7 separate regions of the Homo sapiens genome follow, and regions 1, 2, 3, 4, 5 and 7 are each linked to region 6. The links are contacts of gene promoters, found by promoter capture Hi-C in blood cells and fetal thymus (Javierre and others, 2016). All regions are on one chromosome and are shown on one strand. The core of a region is centred on a gene start or on the middle of the fragment in contact, and the rest is flanking DNA. Distances in the headings are between cores, read along the strand shown. Region 1 overlaps OSTF1 (osteoclast stimulating factor 1). Region 2 overlaps OSTF1 (osteoclast stimulating factor 1). Region 3 has its middle 100 kb from the start of OSTF1. Region 4 overlaps NMRK1 (nicotinamide riboside kinase 1). Region 5 has its middle 86 kb from the start of OSTF1. Region 6 holds the start of RFK (riboflavin kinase). Region 7 overlaps OSTF1 (osteoclast stimulating factor 1).

Region 1 (3,098 bases), core at 594-3,093, 1.3 Mb before region 6:
CTTTGGAATTTTATGTGGTTCTATAACTTTGTTCCCATTTTAGGTTTAACTTTTAGGTTTAACTGGGTTAAACCTGAATTAACATGTACTTTCAATCCACCCTCTATCTTAAAAATGGTACTTTCTCTTTTTATCACTATAGAACAAGTTGGGAGATACAGCTTTGCATGCTGCTGCCTGGAAGGGTTATGCAGATATCGTCCAGTTGCTTCTGGCAAAAGGTAAAGTTTGTGCTGAGTTTATCTGGTCTTTGCTTGCCCTGAAAAATAGTCTATATCAACTTACGCCATTTGAAATGGTAGGAAGAATAATAGTCTTATTTCAAAATAGGGTTTAACCTTTGCTCTGCCTGTGTATCATGGAATAGTTATGATAAAATAAAATTATTGGGGGTTGGTTTGTGTTAGTTTTTAATATAAACTAAAACCATGGCAAGCTTTAACATTACATATATTACTTTTAGTAAGAACTGTATTGTATGTTTCTGCAGGATTATAGAGCCTTAGAAACAAAGAATGTATGTGTACACGTGTGTTGGGGAGATCCTGTCTGAGAAAGCTGTATAGGTAAAGTTGCTGAGGCCCCTGTTCTCACAGGGAAGTCTTGACAGATAAGCAAGAATGATGCGGCTGCAATGTCCTGCTTTGAGCTGAGCAGGTGCTAGATGTAAAGTGAACGAGAGAGGATATCTTGATCCCCTGTTTTTATAAGTCAGAGGAAACAGTGAATTTATAAACTGACTATCCCTTTATCCTTTTGTCCCACAAATATTAGTTTACTCTTAGAGAAGGCCAGGCAGATCACCTATACCATACTCTAGTCCAGAAGCCTATCATGTAGGATGCTTGAGTCCCCAAGACACTTGTCATGGAATTACCCTCATTAGGGATCCTCAGAGCAATATTGTGGGATATATGATAGGAAATGGTTTAGATTTTAAGTATGCTGGTGATGTAAGCTGCAGGTCTAAAAGGCCAGACATTATGAGGATCACTCTAGTGCCCTGTAAAGGGTATACTGATGACTTTGATGCCTAATATGGCAGCCACTAGCCACGTGCACAACTGAGCCCTTTAAATGGGGCTATCTGAATTGAGATGTGCTGTAAGTGTAAAATGCATACCAGATTTCAAAGACTTAGTGAAACAAAAAGTAAAACATCACAGTAATTTTCATGTTGGTTATGTGTTGAAATGATAATATTTCAGATATGCTGGGTTAAATAAAATATATAATTAAAAATAATTTCACATTTTGCAAATGTGGCTGTTAGAAAATTAAAAATTATATATGTGGATCACATTATATTCCTATTAGTGCTCATCTAAAGGGACCCAGGAAATAGTTGTGTTTCTTCTTTATCATCACTGTCTCTGAATATTTCCTGTTCTGATAGAAATCATGTCTATGAGCTCTAAAGTATAATATAGTATATGATTAGTCACAGAACTGTTAACCCTCAGGAGTTTTTGATCTGTAGCACACTGAGAGAATGAGGTTTTATATAACCCTACTGTGAATAGAATGATCTGCTTAGGAGAAAGATTTTGACACAAGATCATTATATTACTAATTAAACATACTATTTTTTTTCTTGATGCAATATTTCTTTGCCTTTAAATTTGGGGACACTTCTTTCTTTCTTTCTTTCTTTCTTTCTTTTTTTTTTGAAACTGGGTCTCTATTGCCCAGGCTGGAATGCAGTGGCATGATCTCGGCTCATTGCAACCTCCGCCTCCAGGGCTCAAGTGATTCTCCCACCTCAGCCTCCTGAATAGCTGAAATTACAAACGTGCACCACCACACATGGCTAATTTTTGTAGAGATGGAGTTTCGCCATGTTACCCAGTCTGGTCTTAAACTCCTGAACACAAGCGATCCGCCTGCCTCAGCCTCCCAAAGTGCTGGGATTACAGGCGGATGAGCTACTGTGCTGGCCTATTTTTGTTTATTGAAGGGGAAGTGGTTGCAAAAAAAATATGATACTTTCCTACACTGTGGCAGAAAGTATGAACTGACAAAGCCTTCTTTTTTTGTTTTTTTGGTTTTCTTTGAGACTGTCTGGCTCTATTGCCCAGGTTGGAGTGCAGTGGCGCAATCTTGGCTCATTGCAGTCTCCGCCTCCTGGATTCAAGTGATTCTCATGCCTCAGTCTCCCAAGTAGCTGGGATTACAGGCATGCGCCACCACACTTGGCTAATTTTTGTATTTTTAGTAGAGATGGGCCATGTTGGTCAGGCTGGTCTTGAACTCCTGACCTCAAATGATCTGCCCGCCTTGGCCTCCTAAAGTGCCAGGATTACAGGCGTGAGCCACCGTGCTTGGCCTAAAGCCTTCTTGGAAAGCAATCTTAAAATCAGAGATGAAAAAGGAGGTATTACAACTGATACCACAGAAATTCAGAGGATCATTAGAGACTAGTATGAAAAGCAATCTGACAGTAGCTGTCAGAATTTAAAATGGACTTAGCCTGACTTTCCAATACCATTTTTAGTAAACCATTCTTCAGAAATACGTGTGAACAAAGATGTTGTTCAAGGATGTTCACTGGAGTATTTGTGATAATGAAAATTAGGAGTAGCCTAAGTGCCCGTCAATACAGGAGTAATTAAATTTTGGAGCACCACAAAATGGAATACTTAAATGGTTGAGTTACAAATATGTGTATTTGCTAAGAAAACAGTACCATTAGACATTAAAGTTTTAAAAACATGAAATCACAGACCAATACGTGTAGTACGATTTTGTGTCTATATCAATATGTGTATGAATGCACTGATGCAAATAAGGGAGATAAGAACTCACACCCACTTGTTAAGAATGGTTACCTTAGGCGTAGGTAGAAGATGAAGGAATGAAATGGGACTTGTGCTTTTGTTCAGCATACATTTGTATTTTTGAATCCTTAACAATGCAAATGTATTCATGAATTCTGATGTAATTTTGAACACAATAAAGGCAAAGGAAAAGTGGGTAGAAGATGGCTTATGGGAATAATGAATTGCCTCTTGGTTTTACGTGTTGCTATTCTGTTAATTTGCATGAGAGCAGACTTACAGATATAAAATATTAATCCCCTCAAGCACTATCCACTTGGT
Region 2 (3,179 bases), core at 592-3,091, 1.3 Mb before region 6:
CAGTAATGCAAACAAGGCATGACATATGGATTTACTGTTACCTTAATATTCACTTTGAAGGTTGGGCCTGGTGGCTCATACCTGTAATCCCTACACTTTGGGAGGCCGAGGTGGGAGGATTGCTTGAAGCCACGAGTTTGAGATCAGCCTGGGCAACATGACTCCCGTCTCTACAAAAAATGAGCTGGGTGTGGTGGTGCATACCTGTAATCCCAGCTACTTAGGAGGCTGAGGCAGGAGGATCTCTTGAGCCTGAGAGGTTGAAGCTGCAGTGAGCTATGATTGCACCACTGTACTCCAACCTGGGTGACAGTGAGACCCTGTCTCTCAAATAAATAAATAAATAAATTAATTAATTAATCAAAGAAAAAAGAAAAAGAAAAAATTTGCTTTGGAAACAAGTAATTTCTCTAAATGTAACAGTTACAATGTGTGCCTTTCTGATTTGCCTTTTGTGGAGGTGGCATGACCAGGGTAACTTTTTTTTTTAATTCCTAGGACTGAAATCATTTTCTTCAATTTTTCCCCAAGAAAATTTTCAATATTAATATATTGAAATTCTCTCAGTTGAATGTATAAATGATTATTCATTGTTGGAGGAGTAAATTATTTTAATAATTAATGATGATAATGAGTCCGAATTTTAAGTATGAAAATTATTATATAAAGAGTAAAAATTACAGGCATAGATTGAGAATTAATGTTGAGAGAGTGTGATTGCTAGTAATTCTGGGGAATCCATTGTATTCTTTGTGGGACTACTTTCAGTGACATTATATCATCATCATTAAGCAAATATTCAGGCCCAGGAGATGAAGAGATTAAGTCTTGACCTCAGTTGGTTCCTATCAGGGAGGAAGGATAGCTTACTAATGTGCTGGCAGCGTCACTTCCGGCAGCAGTGACTCTGGCAGAGCTAGCGCAAGAACATCTTGCTTTTTCTACAGACCTTGTTTTAGAGAGAGGATTTGTTTAGTTTTACAGAAGTCCCATCAGGCTGCAGTTAACAGTACCAAGGAATTACCATTTCTGCCCTTTTATATCAAACTTTTAAAGTGAGTCTACCGGAATTTTAGTAATAAGAGTGTAATTTTAATTATTTTTTTGGATAAAATCTCAGGTTTATTCTTTTTTTTTTTTTTTTGGGTGGAGTCTCACTCTCTTGCCCAGGCTAGAGTGCAATCTTGGCTCACTGCAGCCTCCACCTGCTGTGTTCAAGAGATTCTCCTGCCTCAGCCTCCCAACTAGCTGGGATTACAGGTGCCCGCCAACACGCCCGGCTAGTTTTTGTATTTTTAGTAGAGATGAGGTTTCACCGTGTCGGCCAGCTGTTCTCCAACTCCTGATCTCAAGTGATCTGCCCGCCTCCACCTCCCAAAGTGCTGGGATTACAGGCATGAGCCGCCATGCCCGGCCAGGTTTCAGATTTATTCTTGTATCCCAGTAGTTCATTCTGTTAAAGCCACATTTGGCTTTGGCAAATATTAATTTTAGCATTTGGTCATTTGGCATTAGGCCAAAAAATGTGTATTTGGTAAATTTATTAATTAAATATCCATCTACCTGTCCATGCCCAATAAGACAAAATTTCACAAAACTGTAATTTCTTCTATTATGTATAGTGTACACTGGTCTTTCTGACCCATTTAATTTTCTTAAAGTCAACTAAATTAGTTTCTCAATCTACTAATAGGTCATGACCTTCAGTTTAAAAGTGTTGAGGTGACTCACTGTGTTCTGGGATTAGTGAAACAGTGAGGAGGGGTTATTTTTGTATGCAATATTTTCTTCCTACGGAAGATGACCGGAAGGGATTTCTAGTTATGTTCCACTCCCAAAAATGCAACTTAAGGTCTCAAGGCATGTTAAGACTAGTAACAATGAATTAATGCTACCACCAAACAATTTTCTATAGTGGCTGTACTAATTTATGCTCCCACTAGCAGTATCTGGGAATTCTATTTGTTCTATAATGCTTAGCAATGCTGGTATTGTTTTTAAATTAATAGACTATTTTTTTTAGAGCAGTTTTAGTTTTACAGCAAAATTGAGTGGAAGGTACAGAGATTTCTCATATACCCCTGCTGCCACACATGTGTAGCCCCTCCATTATCAACATCCCTCACCAGATACAGCATTCTTAAAAAGACATTTGTTAGAATTGATGAATCTTCATTGATGCATCAATGCATCATCATCATCCAGAATCCATAGTTTATGTTAGGGTTTGCTCTTGTTGATGTGGTTTCCATGGGTTTGGACAAATGCGTAATGGCAGTGATACTCTAATAAACCATTAGAGTATCATACAGAGTCGTTTCACTGCCCTAAACATCCACTGTACACTGCCTTTTCAACTGTACCTCCCCCAACCCTTGACAACCACTGATCTTTTTACTGTTTCCATAGTTTTGCCTTTTCCAGAATGTCATATAGTTGGAATCATGTAGTACATAGCCTTTTCATGTTGACTTTTCACTTAGTAATACGCATTTTAGTTTCCTCCATGTCTTTTCATGGCTTGATAGCTCATTTCTCTTTAGTGCTGAATAATATCCCATTGTCTGAATACACCACAGTTGATTTATCCCATTGTCAGTATTTTTCACTTTAGCCATCAGAGTGAGTATGTAGTAGTTATCATAGCCATTGTAAGTGAAGCCCATCTAAGTGTCTCACACTTCTTAACATTCTTAAAAAGACATAAGTGAAATAGTCTATCTATTACAGATGGCCAGGGGCTGATATTTTAAATAGTCATTCCTCTTGCTGTTTATCGTATATCTGTGTATCTGTCTCTTATAGTGAGCAGTTTCTTTCTTTTTTTTTTTTTGAGACAAGATTTCACTCTGTCATCCAGGCTGGAGTGCAGTGGTGCAGTCATGGCTCACTGCAGCCTTGACCTCCTGGGTTCAAGTAGTCCTCCCACTTCAGCCTCCTGAATAGCTGGGACTATGGGTGTGTACCAACCGCAACCACACCTGGCTAATTTTTAAATTTTTTTTGTAGAGCTGGGGTCTCATTGTGTTGCCCATGCTGGTCTTGAACTCTTGGGCTCAAGCAGTCCTCCACTTTGGCCTCCCAAAGTGCTGGGATTACAGGTGTGAGCCACCGTGCCCGGCCCCAATCCCTTTTTAATGATATCTGAGTGGCTTTCTTTAGAGGCTTCTCCAGTTTTT
Region 3 (3,382 bases), core at 357-2,856, 1.2 Mb before region 6:
TATTCTTCCTGAACAAGATGGATAAATTATATTAATGTGCTGTATATATATATTTTTAACCTGAGCTATTGGAGAAATAAGAGAACCTGTTAGATTTGAAATAGATTTGTAACATTTACAGGAAATTTGCTTGTTTATAACACAGTACTCTGGCCAGGACGTATGCTTCATCAGGAAAATGTCATAACTGAATTGGAAATAGGAATTTGAAGCCATTTACTTCTCTGTAAATGAAAACACATTCAGTCTTACTCTTTTGGTGATACCAGATAATACCATTTTAAGGCCATAGGTTCTTGCTTTAATTATATTTGTCATCATGTTAATTAATTTCTGCTTCTGTGTATAGTTGCCCAGGTAACACATGTATGTGTCTGTGTATGTATGTGAACTAACACCTTAATTAGTGGAGAACACTGGCCATATGGATCACCAGAGTTTTTCCATATTAATTACCTTTACAAGTCAATGAAGGAACAAAGGTAAAGGCAAAAGAATTGGAACCAGGCCATTTTTTTTTCTAGCATAACACAGTTTTCCCTTACTTGGTTAACAAGGAAAGTTGAAAAACTCTTAAAGAAACTCTAGCCTAAAGCATTGAGTCTTTCAGAAGGGATTTCCAAACTAAACTATGAAGACAAATTTGGACAAGAAGTAAATTTTTTTCTTGGTTATATTCCTCTGAAAAGCATATTATTTAATAAACCGTTGGTCAATTACTCTGGAGTGAGAATTGCATTCTTCTGAATCAAACGATCAACATAAACTTCTATTAGGTTGGTACAAAAGTAATTGCAGTTTTGCCTTTACTTTTAATATGTGTGTGTTCATGGGAATCTTTGCTTGTTTGTTTCTGTGGTTGTGTCAATCTATGTACAGCAAATTTAGTGTGATCCCTGTCTCCTCAATTTGGCGTAGAGAGAAAAATACTAACTTGGGAATCAGAAGAATTGGGATCTAGCTTTGGATAAAAGGGCTAATACTTTAATATGAAAAGCCTCTTAGGAGACTTCACCACAAGAAGGATCATGCATAGTATTGTTTACAACAATGAAATCTGGAAAAAAATCACTAAATTTCTAATAATTGTGAATTGTTTAAATACATTTTGGTACATTTATGTAATGGAATTTATGCAGCCATTTAAAATATTGCTGTAGAATCATATTTACTGGCATAAAATGATGTTTCCATAGATAGATTTACTTCATATAATGACTGTTCATTCAACAATTTTTGGCCATATTGGCTATTTCACAGTTATACAACTTTTCAGACAATGTTTAAAAAAATTTAACTATTTTTCACCCAAGCAATACTAAGTAAATATGCGATATGAAACATTATATCCTAAAACATAGTTTTAGGATAACCATGTTAACCAAACCAGATTGTTTAAACATTATGCTTTTAGGATAACCATGTTAACCAAATGATTTTAGGATAACCATGTTAACCAAACCAATTTTCTCAACACAGTAGTTTCTAGTCAAATAATATAATGTGAAACAAGTAGAATTGGGCACCACATTAGGTGATTCTAAATACTTTGCTTTGTGTAGGTTCACCAATCCAGTGGGGTAAAGACATAGTGTCTCTGTGTGCTCTTTCCATACTTTGCTAAGAATTATAAAACTGATATGGTTTGGCTGTGTCCTCACCCAAATCTCATCTTGAATTTTAGTTCCCATAATCCCCACATGTCGTGGAAGAGACCCAGTGGGAAGTGATTAAATCATGGGGGCGGTTTCCCCATGCTGTTCTTGTGATAGTGAGTAAGTTCTCATGACATCTGATGGTTTTATAAGCGTCTGGCATTTCCCCTGCTTGCACTCATTCTCCCTCCTGCTGCCCTGTGAAGAGGTGCCTTCCACCATGATTGTAAGTTTCCTGAGGCCTCCCCAGCCCTGCTGAACTGTGAGTCAATTAAACCTCTTTCCTTTATAAATTACCCAGTCTTGAGCAGTTCTTTATAGCAGTATGAAAACAGACTAATACAAAGATTTAGCCTTTATTTTACCCTATAGATAGCTTTCAGTGATCTAACTTTATTTCTAAGTCCAATTATTTCTAATTTGAGTGCCAAATATAATCATGAATCCCTGAAAATGTGAAAAATTGGTAAAGAAAATGGTGTATAGAAAATTCATCTTCCAAAAGAATGACTTTCTCACAACTGTCCCCAACCAACATCCACTACGAAGACTATTTGTCCTCATTTTGTGAGTACAATAGATCTTTATTATATTTTAGTCAATATACAAACCATATTCAGATACTTTGGGATACTGTTGTCTGCTGTTTGTATAAACTTGTTTTTATTGCTTAGTTAGCAATGTGAAAATTGTTTGGGTAAGGTAGGTTAAGATAAAAAAGTGTCATAAATTTTTTCGTTAAAAATTAAAGAAAAAATTTAAATTTACTTTTTTTATATTTAGAAAGGCTTTTCAGAATTGAGTAATGCTGTCAAGCATGAGAGAAGTGAATTATTAAATTCAATAAAGCAGATTGCAACCTACAGGTAGCAAAAGATAGACATAGTAGAAATATATAGATGGATATATAGATAATAAATTGAAAAGATATATACCAAAATTGTTCCCAGTGATTGTGTTGTTAGATGATGGGGGTAATCTAATTTTTAAATTAAATCTGATGACTTTCCTCCCTCCCTCCCTTCCTTCCTTCCTCTTTCTTTCCTTCCTCCTCCTTTCTATCTCTCTCTTTTATTTGCTTAAGTGGCAAGATAATATTTTGAGATATAAACTAAAATTCCCTCCCTATAGGTTTTGTATCTCTTCGTCAGTCTGATATAGTATGAAATTTATCTTTATACCGTAGAGATGGGCTGACACAGAGCAGATTGCAGGTAAAAGAAAAGTAATTTTTAACTTTTGTATTTTTGAAGTTAAGACCAGGCAAACACAAAGTTTGGAAAACCACATGAACAGTTAGAGCCAGTTCTCCCACATAAATACTGGATAATGTCTGCCTGGACTTGGGAGGAGCAGAAGAGAATCAGAGGGAAGGTAAGGTTATGGGTCTTCGATGGGCCAAGTTCTGGGATTTGGAGGGAGGAGGAGAGTGATAGAATCCTCTAGTACATTTCGGGATTTGAGAGCAGGGAAGAACTCCTTGCAGAGGAATTAAAACTCACAAGTAAACAGAAACGTCTCAAAATAATGTTAGGAGGATTTTGCCAAGTGTTGATTTAGGGCTTTTTGCATTTGGATGATTACAGAGGCAGAGAAAAAGTGGGAGGTAGAGGGAGAGGGTGAGAATTAGCACTTCCAAGACTCTTACTACAGTCCAGATATTTCTATCTCAACAATAGTTCAGTAAGGCTTTGGGTCAATATGGATCATTTGGTTATAATTATGTA
Region 4 (3,281 bases), core at 756-3,255, 1.3 Mb before region 6:
TTATGCAAAAGAAGTGAGAATAAATATGAACCTCCTTGTACTCAATATCCAGCTCCAACATTTATCAACTCGTTGTCAAATCTTGAAAAAGATATCTTTTTACCCTGGGACTGATGGACCTAGGAGGATGTTGTTGTCAACAGACATCAGGTCAGTGGAGAGCCTGACTTCAAAATAAACCCTAAATAGAAAGTAGAATAGAAGCAGAGTCCTGAGGACCTTATTTGAGTTCCTTAACCCATTAATGTTGGAGGTTGCAAATTATTTTTGTGAAAAACGAGACCTTGGTGATGACCTTCAGCAGTAGGATATAAATAACTCCTACAAGCTTAGAGTTCCAACAATGGAACACTAGGCATAAATGAGTTAATCCAGCTGAGCCTGAAGCCACCATTACCCCTGTACTGTCTTTCTGCTGTAGCCATATTTAGGCAGATCCCTGTCACTTGCAAACAGTGCCGTCCAATATGAAAACCTTAAACAAACACTTCATAATACTTTTTAAAATCTTTTGTTTATCTTTGAGGTATTTGGAAAGTAGAAATTTTACAGAAAGTCTTTAAGGGAATAAAAGAAAAGGGGAGCTCTGGACATACTAAAAAAAATCATCAGCATTTTAATTATACTGTGCCCAAAGGATACTTCCAGTCCCATTTGGTACAGCCATCTACTAAAAGTTTTAAAGTAAATCACATAAATAGCATTAAGAGATGTAACAAAGGGTACATGGTTTTACCCCTAAAAACAGACAAAATAATTGAGTCTCCAAACCCCCCCCCAGAATTTCTGATTCTGAATTATCCTCAAAGCAAAGAATGGATGAGCACAATCACTCCTACACTAGCATTCTGGTATTCCATTCTTTCATATGTAATGAATGATTTTCCTGGCTGTTTCTCCTCTACCATCCACTTTGTTAGCACAATACTTACACTTTTGCTTTGCTAGTTCTTGTATTAGATCTTCATATACTTGCAAAAAGAGGTCCTCTTCAGATTTTGTTCCATCCAGGTACACTACGAAGGGGAAAAGAGAGCAGTTCAAATGCTAACAGGCTTATTAATATACAATGTTTACTTTGACACCCAACATCTCTTGTAAATGCCAATAGGTTTAACCAAGGCACCCAGGACCATAACTTAAAAGGAAATTAATAGTGATTAAAGAAAGAAATAGATGCTAGCCAGCTATAATAGGTCAAAAATATTGGATTGTTACAGATAAATCCACACTGGCTTATGTGAAAATTATTTAATTAAAAGAGAAGAGAAAGAAAGAAGAAAGGAGGAAAGAAACAGAAGAAAGAAAGTGGTGTTGTGCATACGGCACTTTAGGTGCACTGAAGGTGTTCACCCAAAAGGGTCACTTAAGGAGTAATTCTTCAACATACTTATACATCAGGATCACCTGGGAAGCTTCTTAAACAATGCAGTGGTCTGGGATCTGCAACATATGTACAAACTCAGAATTCACCAGGCTCAGAAAATATGTATTGTGTGTGTGTGTATGTTTGTGTGTGTGTGTGTGTGTTTTCTGCTATCAGAGAAAAGACGTATTTTTAATAAAACTGGCATAAGCAGCTTTGGAGAAAAAGTAGAAGTTGTCTAGGTTAAAGGAAGGAAAGGGCCTTCTGGTCAGAAAACAGCATGAGTAGGGAGAGGCAAGAGCACTGATGCACCCTTTGGAATGGCTAGAATATGGGGAAGCTCCAGGAACAGCGTGAGATGAGATTTTAGAGCAAGGGTGTACCTCAGTACCTCAGTCGTTAGAGGCCTTGATGTCTGGCTGTTTGGATTGTATCTCAAAGATCTGGAGATGACTCAAGGTATTCAGCAGAGCAGGAGCCTGATTAGATTTGCATTTTAGGTAAAAGGGAGAGAAGGGAAGCAAGAGGATGTTCTTGCAACCAATGGTCCAAGTTGGACGTGGTGCAGCCAGAATCTCAGCATTGGCCCTGGGGGTACACTCTGTGTGCATTCCACATGGCTCTGACATAGCTGCCTATCCTGGAGGCCAACAGGCTTCTCACAACACAGACAAGTCCCCTTTATTGTGAAAAGCATACATCAGTTCTAACTCCTTTGCCTTATCCAACAGCCTTCTGCCATCTTCCCTGCATTGAGTGCCCTATTCCAGTGATCTGTTCTTAGCTCAAGCCCACAGATCCGGATGCTTACCTCCAAATTGCTACATATGTCTCCCAGGCACCTCAACCTCATTATGTGCAAAAGAGACATGCATTCCTCCCTTACAGGTCTGCAATGCCTTCACTTTTTTCTAACATCTGTCAGTTGCTGAGGCATCTGTCATCTTCCCGCCCCCTCCATAGCTGTTCTATCACCCAGTTCTACTGAGTGCGGGCGTCCAACATCACACCCTATAAATCTATCCTCCTCCATTCTCCACACAGCCAGAGGGGTCTTAACTAAAACAAGAATTTTTATCAATCATGCCCTTGTTTAAAACTTCTCTCTAGAGAGCTTCTTACTTCTCTGAGAACAATGATCAAAGTCCTTACCTAGATTATTGGCCTTATAGGGTCTGGACCCTGCCTGTATCACTAGCATCAATCCACTCCCCTGGTTTTCTTTACTAGAAAGCTTTCTCAACACCAGCTTTCTTTCAGGGGTTTCTCATTCCTTCCTGTCCCCTGGCCCTTTCGTGTGCCACACCCACTTTCTGGGGTAATCTTCTATCTCCCCAACCCATCTCCTTTGTTCAGTTAAACTCATTGAAGTTTGGTTAAATGTGACTTCCTCAAGGAAGCCTTTCCTGACTACCGGGATCTCGGCAGTCCCCTAGAACTTGGTGTCGCAGAACTTACAGCAGCTGGAAAGGACAGGCTTGGGCCGCTGGTATCTCTAGCACCTGTTTCCATGATAGAATGTTACCTGCATAAGAGCAGGGGCTGGGTCTGCCTCATTCCCCTCACCATCTCCAGGGCAGCACTGGAAGGCATTCATTCAATACTGGTTGAATGAATAACCATCCAGAAGCTGACAAGAGCCACAGAGAGAAACAGAAACCAGGAGAACCAGCTATGGAAAAGGAGAAGCCCAGAGTGTTCTTGCTTAAGCATCCCTTTATACTTTTCTATGAGTCCTTTCTTTTCTATACTTTGAGGCAAATGACAAGTAAAAGGCCTTGAACAGAAGGAGAAAAGGCACTTACCAACTTCCCATGTGATGTCCTGCATTTCTTGTCTGTACTTTAGATACATGGGCCACACATGGCCATCAAAGTATCCCGGAGAGTCTGGAGGCTGATAGACCCTTGTACTA
Region 5 (3,549 bases), core at 57-2,556, 1.2 Mb before region 6:
TTTAAGTTCAAAGGGAAGTCATAGAAAGTTTTAAGTTTTAAGATTCACTTGAATTGATTTATCCTTTAAAAAGACCACTATGGGGCTAGTTTGGCTAGCACACATGTCAAAAAGTGGACTCCTTTGGCAGATGAGGATATATTTCCTAGGCATTTTATTGACACATGAAAAGGAAAAGAGTAATAGAAAAAAAAGAATTAACGAGAACTGAAAGATTGCATCTTAGAAATTGTAAGAACTGATACCTCACCTGTTCCTACAGTCCAGTAAAAATTCTGTAAGCCTTTTTCTTTTTGAGCCATTTGGGGCTGGGATGGGGAGAAATGGAAACACATGTTAGATAAACAAATTACTTTTTGAAAGAGCTATGGCATTTGCTGGATGGAGAGTAGATTGAAGGTCTTCAAGGCAGGTATGGGGAGAGCTGTTAGGAAGACCATTACAAGGTCTGCTGTAGCTGGTACTAGGGTTGTGGCTATGAAAAAATGGGTAGTGGATGGATTCTAGATATATTTTGTTCATGGACTCACAGAACTTGTTAATATAGATTGGATATGGTAGAGTGAGGGAGAAGTAGACGTCAAGGAAAATTCTTGGGTGTCTGACTAAATAACTGAGTCTATGGTGATGCACCATTTACTGGTATAGGGAAGAGTTAGAGAGTAACAGATTTGGAGGGGAGGGGGTATGAGGAATAGTGTGGGCAAAGGGCAAAATCAAACAATGTATTTTCTACATCTTGAGTTTAAGGGTGTGAAATACACAAGTAGAGATGTCAAGTAGGCAGTTAGGTATATAACCTATATATACGTTGAGCTGTTAGGTGTGGTCTGGCCTCAAGATAGACATTGGCGGGGGTGATCAGTGTATGGGTGGCATAGATGGTGTTTAATGATATGAGAAGAGAATAGTTATTATGGGGCTTGAGGACTCCCAGTCTTTACAACAGATGTCAAGAAGGGCCAGCAAAGGGAATGTGGGTGGAGTAAACTGACAAAGAGGAGGGAGCAGGAACAGTGTAGAACCACTGAAACCAAGAGAGGAAAATGTTTAAAGAAAGAAAGAGGAATGTGGCCGGGTACAGTGGCTCATACCTGTAATCCCAGCACTTTGGGAGGCTAAGGTGGGTGGATCACCTGAAGTCAGGAGTTCAAGACAAGTCTGGCCAACACGGCAAAACCCCATCTCTACTAAAAATACAAAAATTAGCCAGGCATGGTGGCGCAGGCCTATATTTCCAGCTGCTTGGGAAGCTGAGGCAGGAGAATCACTTACACCTGGGAGACGGAGGTTGCAGTGAACTGAGATCACACTACTGCACTCCAGCCTGGGCGACAGAGTGAGACTCCATCTTAAAAAAAAAAAAAAAAAAAAAAAAAAAGACGGGAATGAAAACTTGTGTGAAAAGTTGCTGAAAGAAATAGTAAGATTAGCCCAGAGGATGGTAACTGTATTTGGCAATATCAAGGTCATTGGTGAGCTCATAATTTTCTAATTATTCTTCTGGTAAAGATGAAACACTTTCCCTGTGAGAATGATCTATGTGGAGATAGTAGTCTTTAGTTTTGTGACAGCCTCTTCCTTAGTGACTGAAGCCCTTCTCCAGCCTAATAGTACAACCATGCCCATAACTATCCCAATATTTAATCCCAATAATCCCAGTGATCTCTTACCTAATCATGGTGAATAAATGCTACTACGCTCAAGGTTCCTACCAGGCTTACTTTCCTTCTGCTTTCCAACACTGTACTTTGTGCACTGACTTTCCTATGCCCCCAAACCAATAGATGCCACACCTTATTATATCCAATTCCTGTATATCTCCATTTGTATGGCATGTTGGACTTTTTGCCTTAACACAAGTCTGCAGGATCTGTAAGCCATTCTTCAGTAATTATTATTCATCTCCAAAATTCTGCCGCATGGGTCTCTTGAACCTCAAAGCCATTCCATACCTGGGAAGGAATGGTTAATATATCACATACTAAAGGATTTTACATACATAGATTGTAAAAGAAGGCATGAAAACAAGAAGTGAATTTTATTTGGACTGTAAATTATATACCGTCCAAAGGACACTTGGACATCATGTAAACAACCTGTCCCTGACCGATAGTTGTGGGAATCCTTCTGTAACATCTCCACAAAATAGTTATCCAGACCCTGCTGCTACCTACCCCTCCAGGGAATGGAAAAATGCTACTTCCTGAGGCACCTCATTACATTTTTAATTAGCTCTAAGAGAAAGAGAATGTGTAGTTTTATTGTACCAAGACTTTCATACACTCCTCCAAGATTTTTTTTGTTACTTTGGAATTAAATCTGCCTTTTCGAGATGACAGCCCTTTAGATATTTGAAGACAATTTTGAAAGTCAGCCTACATCTTCTGTCCTTCATTTCAAAAACTGTGACCAGAAGATAATCTGGGTTACACCTCATCTCTCAAGGCTGGACACGCCGCCTCTCTCAGGTACTTGGATCACCAGTCATTTAACTTTATCCTATGGAAGTAGAGAGTGCTGGGTAGGGGCTGGGAAGAGAAGAAAGGGTTTAACTTAATATTTGAGAAAGCTCTTTCCCACCCTTTGCCTGATAGCTGTTGCTAGCGACAACTGGTATTGGGAATGCTTCATAACGGACTTCTTGAGCAATAGAGAGACAAGTTATTATTTAAAAAATGTTTCAACAAAGCTAGAATAGCAAAACTAGAATTCATATACCTCTGAAAAGCTATCATTAGCACTTATGGTGGTTATAATTATTGAAGAAACCAGGGAAAACATTCCTTGAAGAAATATAGAGTTAATAAAGATGACAAAAGTTCTATCAGGATATCAAAATATATACCTACTTTATGCTCCTATGCTGATTTTAGGAAACAAAAGCTTTATCTTTTGTTCTATGTTCTATTCAGTAATATCTCCAATGATTGTACTAGCTCACAGAGTACGGTGGTTAGTTACTATGTAAAACACTTACATAAGTGGTGGATTTAAGATGGCCACACATTTTTTACCCCGCTACCCAATTACAGGTAGAGTTTAATTCTCCTACCTGGCTTTTGCGACACGCATCACTAGTAGAATGCAGTGGAAGTGACACTCTGGGACTGAAGGCTTTGTTAAAAGAAGACTTCCAGCTTCTACTGAGGTCTCTTGGAACTCAGTTGCCAGACTTTCGGGGAACTTTAGCAGCCCTGTGGGAAGGTGCACTGGAGAGGAGCCAAGGGCTCTGACTGCCAGGCCTGGGTGATCTCCCAGCTGACAGCCAGCATCAATTGGCCGGTCATGGGAGTCAGCGTTCTTGGAAGTGGATCCCCAGCCTCAAAGAAATCAACTTAGTTGGTGCTTTGTGGAGCGGAAATGAATGCTCAGCCAAACCCTTACCAGATCCCTGACCCACAAAACCATAAGCAAAATAAAATTGCTGTTTTAAGCCACTAAGTTTTAGGGCTATTTGTAATGTAGTAACAAGTAAGCAGATGACATGCATTAACTTATTTAATTCTCACAATAACCCTATTAGAAAGACAGTATTATATATGCCAT
Region 6 (3,298 bases), core at 623-3,122:
TGCTCAGGAAAATTAGCTAAACAACAGAAGAAAATATTTTGAGTCTTACAAATTTCGTATTAAATGCCTGTAGCCGAGTGCAGTGGCTCATGTCTGTAATTCTAGGACTTTGAGAGGCCAAGGCAGGAGGCTCATGTTGAGCTCTGGGGTTTGAGACCGGCCCGGGTAACATAGTGAGATCTTACCTCTATTAAAAAATTAGCTGGGGATGGTGGCCTGCACCTATAGTCTAAGCTACCAGAGAGGCTGAGGCAGGAGGGTCAGTTGAGCCCAGCAGATGGAGGCTGCAGTAAGCTATGATCGCACTACCACTGCACTCCAGCCTGAGTGGCAGAGCCAGATTCTGTCTCAAAATAATAATAAGAAACAAACATTTGTAAAAATCACATGCAAGGCTAATGTAAATCATTACATTCACAAGACTCCTACAACTTTGCCTGTAAGTATCAATCCCATCCTTCCATTTTCCGGCTCAGATTTCCCTCTCCTATTCATGTGAATAGGTTATGAATAAAGTACCAGGTAAGTATATAAAGCTCTCCAAAAAAATCCATACTCTTTGAGTAGGATGCAAAAAACAAGTACCAGAGTAGATGGATTTTTTCAGATCTGTTCTTTCCTAACCAGGTACTGAATCACCTGAAAAGTTTCTTTCTTTTTTTTTTTTTTTTGAGACGGTGTCTCACTCTGTCGCCCAGGCTGGAGGGCAGTGGCACGATCTCGCCTCACTGCAGCCTCCGTCTCCTGGGTTCAAGCGATTCTCCTGCCTCAGGTTCCCGAGTAGCTGGGATGACAGGCACGCGCCACCATGCCCAGCTAATTTTTGTATTTTTAGCAGAGACGGGGTTTTACCATGTTGGCCAGGCTGATCTCGAACTCCTGAGCTCAGATGATCCGCCCGCCTCGGCCTCCCAAAGTGCTGGGATTACAGGCGTGAGCCACCACGCCCGGCCAAAGCTTCTTATTTTTCAAATACACAAGCTCAAGGCTGACTTAACAAGTCAAGACGCAGCTCTGGCATGTATTTCTAAGGATGAATTACAGTCAGGTCTCGATTATTGAAATTAATGTAGACAGACCAAGAAGGTTAGCTGACTCTCATTCAACTACCTATGTTATCATTTGGACATTACATAATTACAAATTAAAAACAAAACCACCTTAGACCCGGCTTGCGAGTTCAGCCGTTCTGGCCCACGTTACGTCTCTAATGGGCAAGACAAGCGCAATGCTTGACCAACTGTACCTTGGCTGGCCAAGGAGGCGTGAACGGGGAATCCTGCGATTCATCTCGGGCTTCCGGCCCTCACCACCCCTCAACCCCGTCCCCGCGGAGCTCGGAGCCAGAAGCAGGGACAAGCTCCCTCAACCGAGCCAACGGTCCTCCGCCACAGACAAGGGGATGCGGGAGGAGGAAGGGTGTGCTCTCTGCCCGCGGTCCGGAGGCCCCACGCCCCGGTCCCAAGTCCCCGGCTGCCGTCTCTCCCCGCTCCCCACGTGACCCGGCCCGGGGGACTCTGGCCGCCCTGCTCTCACCTGTGGGGATGCCCAGCTGCTTGGAGCCGCGGCCGAAGCCCCGCACCACTTGACCCCGGCAGAAGTAAGGCAGGTGCCTCATAATGCAGTCCGCTCGGGGAATGGGCTGCGGCCCGGTCTGCGCGTCCTGCGGAGCCGCCGTCGACGCGGCGCCCAGACCCCGGACCAGCCGGGGGACAGGAGCGTGAGCTCTGCCTGCCGCGGGGGCGCACCAGTGGCCGGACGACGCCGACCACAGGCCACTGCGAATCCCTGACGCCGCCGACCCAACAAATACCGCCGGGCGCCTGAGGAGCTGCGTCTCCGCTGGAGGGCAGCGGAGACAGCCGAAGTAAGTGCCGGGTGTGAGCGGGGTGGGGGGAGGGGGCGGCCCGAAGCGCAGAGCCGGCCTCCGCGCCGCCGGCGTGCGCTCCCTTCCTCAGCCGAACGCCTCGAGCCCGCTCGGCTTCCGTAGCCCCGCCCCATCATGGCCCCGCCCCGCCGCTGCCTCGCCCGGCTCCCGCCGCAAGCTCCCGCTGCAGGCTCCCGCCCCAGGCGCCTAATGTCTGGATCCCGGGCTTCGTTTCAGCCCCTGGCGATGGGAACTAATGTGGAAACCCCGTTTTCAGCCTGAGAGCCGCGAAAGCACAATTCTCGAACAATTCTGGTTTTTTTTTCTCCTTCCTCCTGTTCATAACAATCCGGAAGCCAAAGTGAGACGCTCTTTAGCTCCTTGGCAACCGCTGGGTTGAACGTCAGGCATCGCTCGTTCCGTTCGCTCTTTAAGTATTTATTAAAGCTCCAAAATTCAGCTCAAAGATCGCCTCTTCACAGAGGCTTTTCCTGGCCGCCCTACCAGAAGCGGTCGTCCTCCAGGACCACTGACCACGTTCTGGAGTTATTAATATATTCGAATGTAAGCTCCAAGGGAGAAGTCCCTGTCTGTGACGCTGTTAACCCCAGAGACTAGTGGAAGGTTACCGACATGGGCGGTGACTGTCCCCTCCAGGCTGTCTTCTTGACAATTTCACAAGCCCGATAACAGGCCGTCCCTCTACTGCAATGCAGATAGAGGCCTTCGTACCCTCGGAACTGTAAATACGCACGCTCCTAGGGAAGTAGCTCTGGGCTCACTCACAGGATATGCAGGGTGCAAGGTTATAAGAAGGTGCATCCTCTTAACGTCTCGAAGACAAAGAAGTTTTTTATTTATTTTTTTAAATTTTTAATCAATGGAATCCAGAGAAGTTTAATTTTTTTCTTTTTTGCTCTATACATTTGTATAAAATTCTGTGCAGACCGTGTAGTCTCTTTCTACCTTACATGTATGCATCTCTGATAAGATTTACCTGATATTAAATTTATGTTCTAGGCCAGGCTTGGTGGCTCACGCCTGTATTCCCAGTAGTTTGAGAGGCCGACGCGGGAGGATTGATTGAGCCCAGGAGGTCGAGGCTGCACTGAGCTATGATAACGCCACTGCACTCCAGACTGGGCGACACAGTGAGACACCCTCACCCCTTAAAAGAACTAGAGAAGAAGAAGGAAGGGAGGGAAGGGAAAGGAAAGGGGAAGGGAAAGTGAAAGGGAAGAAAAGGGAAGGGAAGGGAGAGAAGGACCCAAAGAAGCAATTATGGTCAGTTACTTATCTATACGGAATTAAACAAAGAATAATGAGAATAACGATAATAGTAATACCGGTAGTAAGAGTAGTAATAGCAAGTTGTGAAAAGCAATTAAGTTATCTGGAGAGGCTTAAGAGTTATTTTAGCAAGGTGTGTAC
Region 7 (3,414 bases), core at 1-2,500, 1.3 Mb before region 6:
CAGTAGACAATACTAAAAGGAAAGGAGCTAGGTGAGTAAGGACAAAGGACTTGCTGGAAGATATTAAAAACAAGGGACATTAAGCTATAATGCAGGCTAATAGCATCTTTCTGGCTGATCAGCACATCCCCAACAGGGGGCCGATTTGTGGAAGGAGGCTGCCCAGGGAAGTCCCGGGCAGATGCTAGTGGGAGACCCTGGCCATTTTTGTACCATCTGGAGGATAGATCAGGGTTACCTTGTTTGGGTTTTTGGCCATATCCAGAATTCATTTGCTAAACAAATGTTTCTTAATAAATGTAGCTCATATATTAGGCCCTGTGCTAGACACTGGGGTTCCCAGGAACAATAATCTATGGTGTCATTCACGAGGGTCCTGAGTCTAATGGGGAAGACGTATGTATCTACAGATATTACCTAGAGTATCCCATATTTACAAGTGGATGGCTGATCTCATTCATTTTGTTTTTTTTAAAAAAGCTTGTAAGTAAAAATATAATTTTTTTATTTTTAGAAAATTTAGAAAAAGGTAAACAATAAATATATAACTAAAATATAGGAATCATCCCTGTCATCTACTGATAATCACTATTTACATTTGGTTGAATATTCTTTCAGGTTTCTTTCTTCTTCACATCCATTTCATTTCAAAAAAGAAAATAAAAACAATTACCCTCAGAACAGCGTCTCAGCTTCCGTTTGAAAAGTCTTGCTGTTGGTTGGCATATGTTTCCAAAAGGCTATACGGTATTGCCTGCATTCTGCTTGAAAAATCAATTCTGTCGCAGTTTGACCTTTCCTTGCTTACTGATTTTGTTTCTGTAGAATCACTTTTGGCCACACAAGGTCTGTCATTGAAACTTTCTCCCTTAACTGTTATCTGTGCCACCATGGTACTCTACTAAGATGTGTTGCAATTTCGTGGTCTTCAGCTCATTCTTTATGATACCCTCTTTCTTTCTTTCTTTCTCTCTCTCTCTTTCTTTCTTTCTTTTTTTTTTTTTGGAGATGGGATTTTGCTATGTTGACCAGGCTGGTCTTGCTCTCCTGTGCTCAAGCAGTCTTCTTCCTTCCTGAGCTTCCAGAGTATCTGGAATTATAGATGCTCACCACCAAACCTGGCTGAGACCCTCCTTTCCTTTTTCTGAATGAGTACAACCTCTTAGTTTTACACATATAGCATTTATGTTGTTTTCAGCCACTCTCAGAAGCCTTGCAGTTCAATTAGCGTGAATCTGTCTGGCTTGTTAGAGTGTAGAAGTGTAGAAAACAGAACTTTTGTTCTTGTAAAATCTTTTTAAAAATATTTTATTCTGAGAGTAAGAATGGGCCAAAGGATACTGAATGAGATTTGGGCTGTAGAATCATCTCATTCTAAGCAGGTTTGGTAACTATCTATTGTAGTTGGAAACCTGGTGTCTGACCTTGGCCATTTTTTCCAAATGGCTTATTGATTTTGGTGGTGAAAGTAAAGCATAAATATTTCATGTGCCTTGTGAAAATAAATTCATGGAACTTTGAAGAAGCAAATGTCAGTGTTTCAGGTTTTTTTGTTATTCAGAGTAAAAACATCATAAAACTTAAAAGACATCACACGCATGCTGCTTAAATAACATTTTTGAGAAAAAAAGGTTTTTATCTAAAATGAACTTAATTTTTATGTATTTTTTACCCCAACAAAGGAATTAATCAAAAGTGAGGTGAAATATGCACGTGAATAGTCTTCTTTTATAAACTTGATACTTTTTATACCTGTTGGCAGAATAAAGCCTGAGAAACATCTTGAAAATTTCACAATGATGATGATGATGGGAATGGTTAACATATATTTGGCCCCATATGTCAGGCACTGCACCCAGCACTGTGTATGCTCTGTCTCCTTTAATTATTCTGACTTTCCTATCAGGTGGGTGGGTCCTCATATCCCTGTTTTATGGATGAAGTAGTACTTAATGAGGTCAAGTAAACTATCTAAGATCTCAAAGCTAGTGAGTGGTTGGTGTGACCTGGAAGTGGAACAGAAGCTTTAATTGAGTCCATGCATATGAGCAGAGAAACCTGCCAGAGATGTTATTGGGTTGGACCTGCTTTTGTTGGACAGTCATTTTATTAGCTTATGCAGTTGTATTATTGGTATTTGGTTTGTGTAACTGCCCTCTTTCAATGGATCCGTATTAGAGCATTAAACTATGCACTTTTTGAGAGTGGAACAGTCTTTTATTTCTTTGTAACTGCACAGCCACTAAATCGTTATGAATGACAGATAATGTAAAACGCTTTGATACAAAAAAAAGGTGGGTTTTTTTTTTTTTCCCTGAAAGAAGGTGGGGGTGGACTCAGAGACTGTGATTGGGCTTTTCTTGTAGCTTTACTACAAAGTAGCAAAGGCTGGAGGTTATGTGCTTCTGATAAGCATTCCTCCCTTCTGGAAATACTGGGGTCCCCTCCCTTGGCGTTTCAGCATTCCCACAATTTGACTTACGTGACTAGTGCAGTGAGATTTTCTAATACACACCTTATACCTCAGGGCATAACAGAACCCATTGCCAAAGTTGTCCTCACTTGCTTAATGGACAGGGAAAGACTACATTAAAAAAAAAATGATACAGGGACACCTTTCAGTGGGCTGATATGAGTGAGGTGTCAAGATTCTCTTATCAAATTAAAGGAGTTTCAGAAAAATGTACAGGCCAGGCACAGTGGTTCACACCTGTAATCCTGGCACTTTGGGAGGCCCAGGCAGGCAGATTGCTTGAGCCTAGGAGTTTGAGACCAGCCTGGGCAACATGGTGAAACCTTTTCTGTACAACAAATATGAAAAAATTAGCTGGGCTTGGTGGTGCGTGTTTGTAGTCCCTGCTACTTAGGAGACTGAGGTGGGAGGATCACTTGAGCCTGGGAGGCCAAGATCGTGCCACTGCACTCCAGCCTGGGTGACAGAGCGAGACCCTGTCTCAAATAAACAAACAAACAATACAACACAAATATTAGAACCAGGAGAACTTCCTGGTTCTTTTAAATAACTACATAGTATTCTGCTGAGCTCATTTAACCAGACCCTAATTAACGTACTTCTGGATTGTTTTCAATCTTTTGTTATAACAAATAGTCTCCCAATAGTATTGTTGTTGCTTACACACGTAAATCCATAGGATAAAGTCCTGGCAGTGGGATTTGTTGTTTCAGAGGGTAAGTGCACTGCTGTTTTCATAGAAATTTCCAAATCGCTTTTCAAAGAGGTCATACCAGTTTACTTCCCTACCAAAAATGTATGAGCATGTCTTAAACAGAAAAATCTCAGTGCTTGTGATAGGAGATGTTATCAAAGTGTGATCAGAGGGCTGGGAAGCATGGGGCAAGGAGCTTGAGGCAGCTGAGAAGATGTTACGGAAGAGGAGTAATCTAAGCAGAGTT

What was found. The method cuts DNA at HindIII sites, captures the fragments that hold promoters and counts their contacts. A CHiCAGO score of 5 or more calls a contact.
Region 1: a fragment that was not itself captured here is called in contact with the fragment with the promoter of RFK in region 6 in 2 of 17 cell types (non-activated CD4 T cells and activated CD4 T cells); the score reaches 6.2 in non-activated CD4 T cells.
Region 2: a fragment that was not itself captured here is called in contact with the fragment with the promoter of RFK in region 6 in 2 of 17 cell types (monocytes and M0 macrophages); the score reaches 5.9 in monocytes.
Region 3: a contact is called between a fragment that was not itself captured here and the fragment with the promoter of RFK in region 6, in 2 of 17 cell types (total CD8 T cells and activated CD4 T cells). The highest score is 7.1, in total CD8 T cells.
Region 4: a fragment that was not itself captured here is called in contact with the fragment with the promoter of RFK in region 6 in 1 of 17 cell types (non-activated CD4 T cells); the score reaches 5.7 in non-activated CD4 T cells.
Region 5: a fragment that was not itself captured here is called in contact with the fragment with the promoter of RFK in region 6 in 1 of 17 cell types (naive CD8 T cells); the score reaches 5.3 in naive CD8 T cells.
Region 7: a fragment that was not itself captured here is called in contact with the fragment with the promoter of RFK in region 6 in 7 of 17 cell types (activated CD4 T cells, non-activated CD4 T cells, naive CD8 T cells and 4 more); the score reaches 9.1 in activated CD4 T cells.

The regions. Positions count from the first base shown.
Region 1 is chr9:75,137,396-75,140,493 of GRCh38, forward strand. OSTF1 (osteoclast stimulating factor 1) reads left to right here. Exons shown (of 10, transcript NM_012383.5): 8 at 143-221. Among named protein-coding and RNA genes, the nearest start is that of OSTF1, 50 kb to the left of the region's middle. The HindIII fragment of the contact is 2,818 bases long and covers 435-3,098 here.
Region 2 is chr9:75,107,896-75,111,074 of GRCh38, forward strand. The region is part of intron 1 of OSTF1 (osteoclast stimulating factor 1); the gene reads left to right. Among named protein-coding and RNA genes, the nearest start is that of OSTF1, 21 kb to the left of the region's middle. The HindIII fragment of the contact is 3,922 bases long and covers 1-3,179 here.
Region 3 is chr9:75,191,347-75,194,728 of GRCh38, forward strand. No RefSeq gene overlaps it. Among named protein-coding and RNA genes, the nearest start is that of OSTF1, 100 kb to the left of the region's middle. The HindIII fragment of the contact is 3,842 bases long and covers 1-3,382 here.
Region 4 is chr9:75,065,825-75,069,105 of GRCh38, forward strand. It overlaps NMRK1 (nicotinamide riboside kinase 1), which reads right to left. Exons shown (of 9, transcript NM_017881.3): 7 at 3,172-3,278; 8 at 933-1,016. Among named protein-coding and RNA genes, the nearest start is that of NMRK1, 21 kb to the right of the region's middle. The HindIII fragment of the contact is 1,185 bases long and covers 1,414-2,598 here.
Region 5 is chr9:75,172,359-75,175,907 of GRCh38, forward strand. No RefSeq gene overlaps it. Among named protein-coding and RNA genes, the nearest start is that of OSTF1, 86 kb to the left of the region's middle. The HindIII fragment of the contact is 3,156 bases long and covers 1-2,884 here.
Region 6 is chr9:76,392,554-76,395,851 of GRCh38, forward strand. RFK (riboflavin kinase) reads right to left here and starts at 1,873. Exons shown (of 4, transcript NM_018339.6): 1 at 1,537-1,873; 2 at 1-16. The coding sequence starts at 1,618. It also overlaps a transcript of GCNT1 not described here. RefSeq lists enhancers at 1,144-1,957, 1,820-2,114, 2,292-2,531 and silencers at 1,322-1,811, 1,852-1,931, 1,952-2,011. The HindIII fragment of the contact is 5,359 bases long and covers 956-3,298 here.
Region 7 is chr9:75,092,074-75,095,487 of GRCh38, forward strand. The region is part of intron 1 of OSTF1 (osteoclast stimulating factor 1); the gene reads left to right. Among named protein-coding and RNA genes, the nearest start is that of OSTF1, 5.3 kb to the left of the region's middle. The HindIII fragment of the contact is 1,544 bases long and covers 479-2,022 here.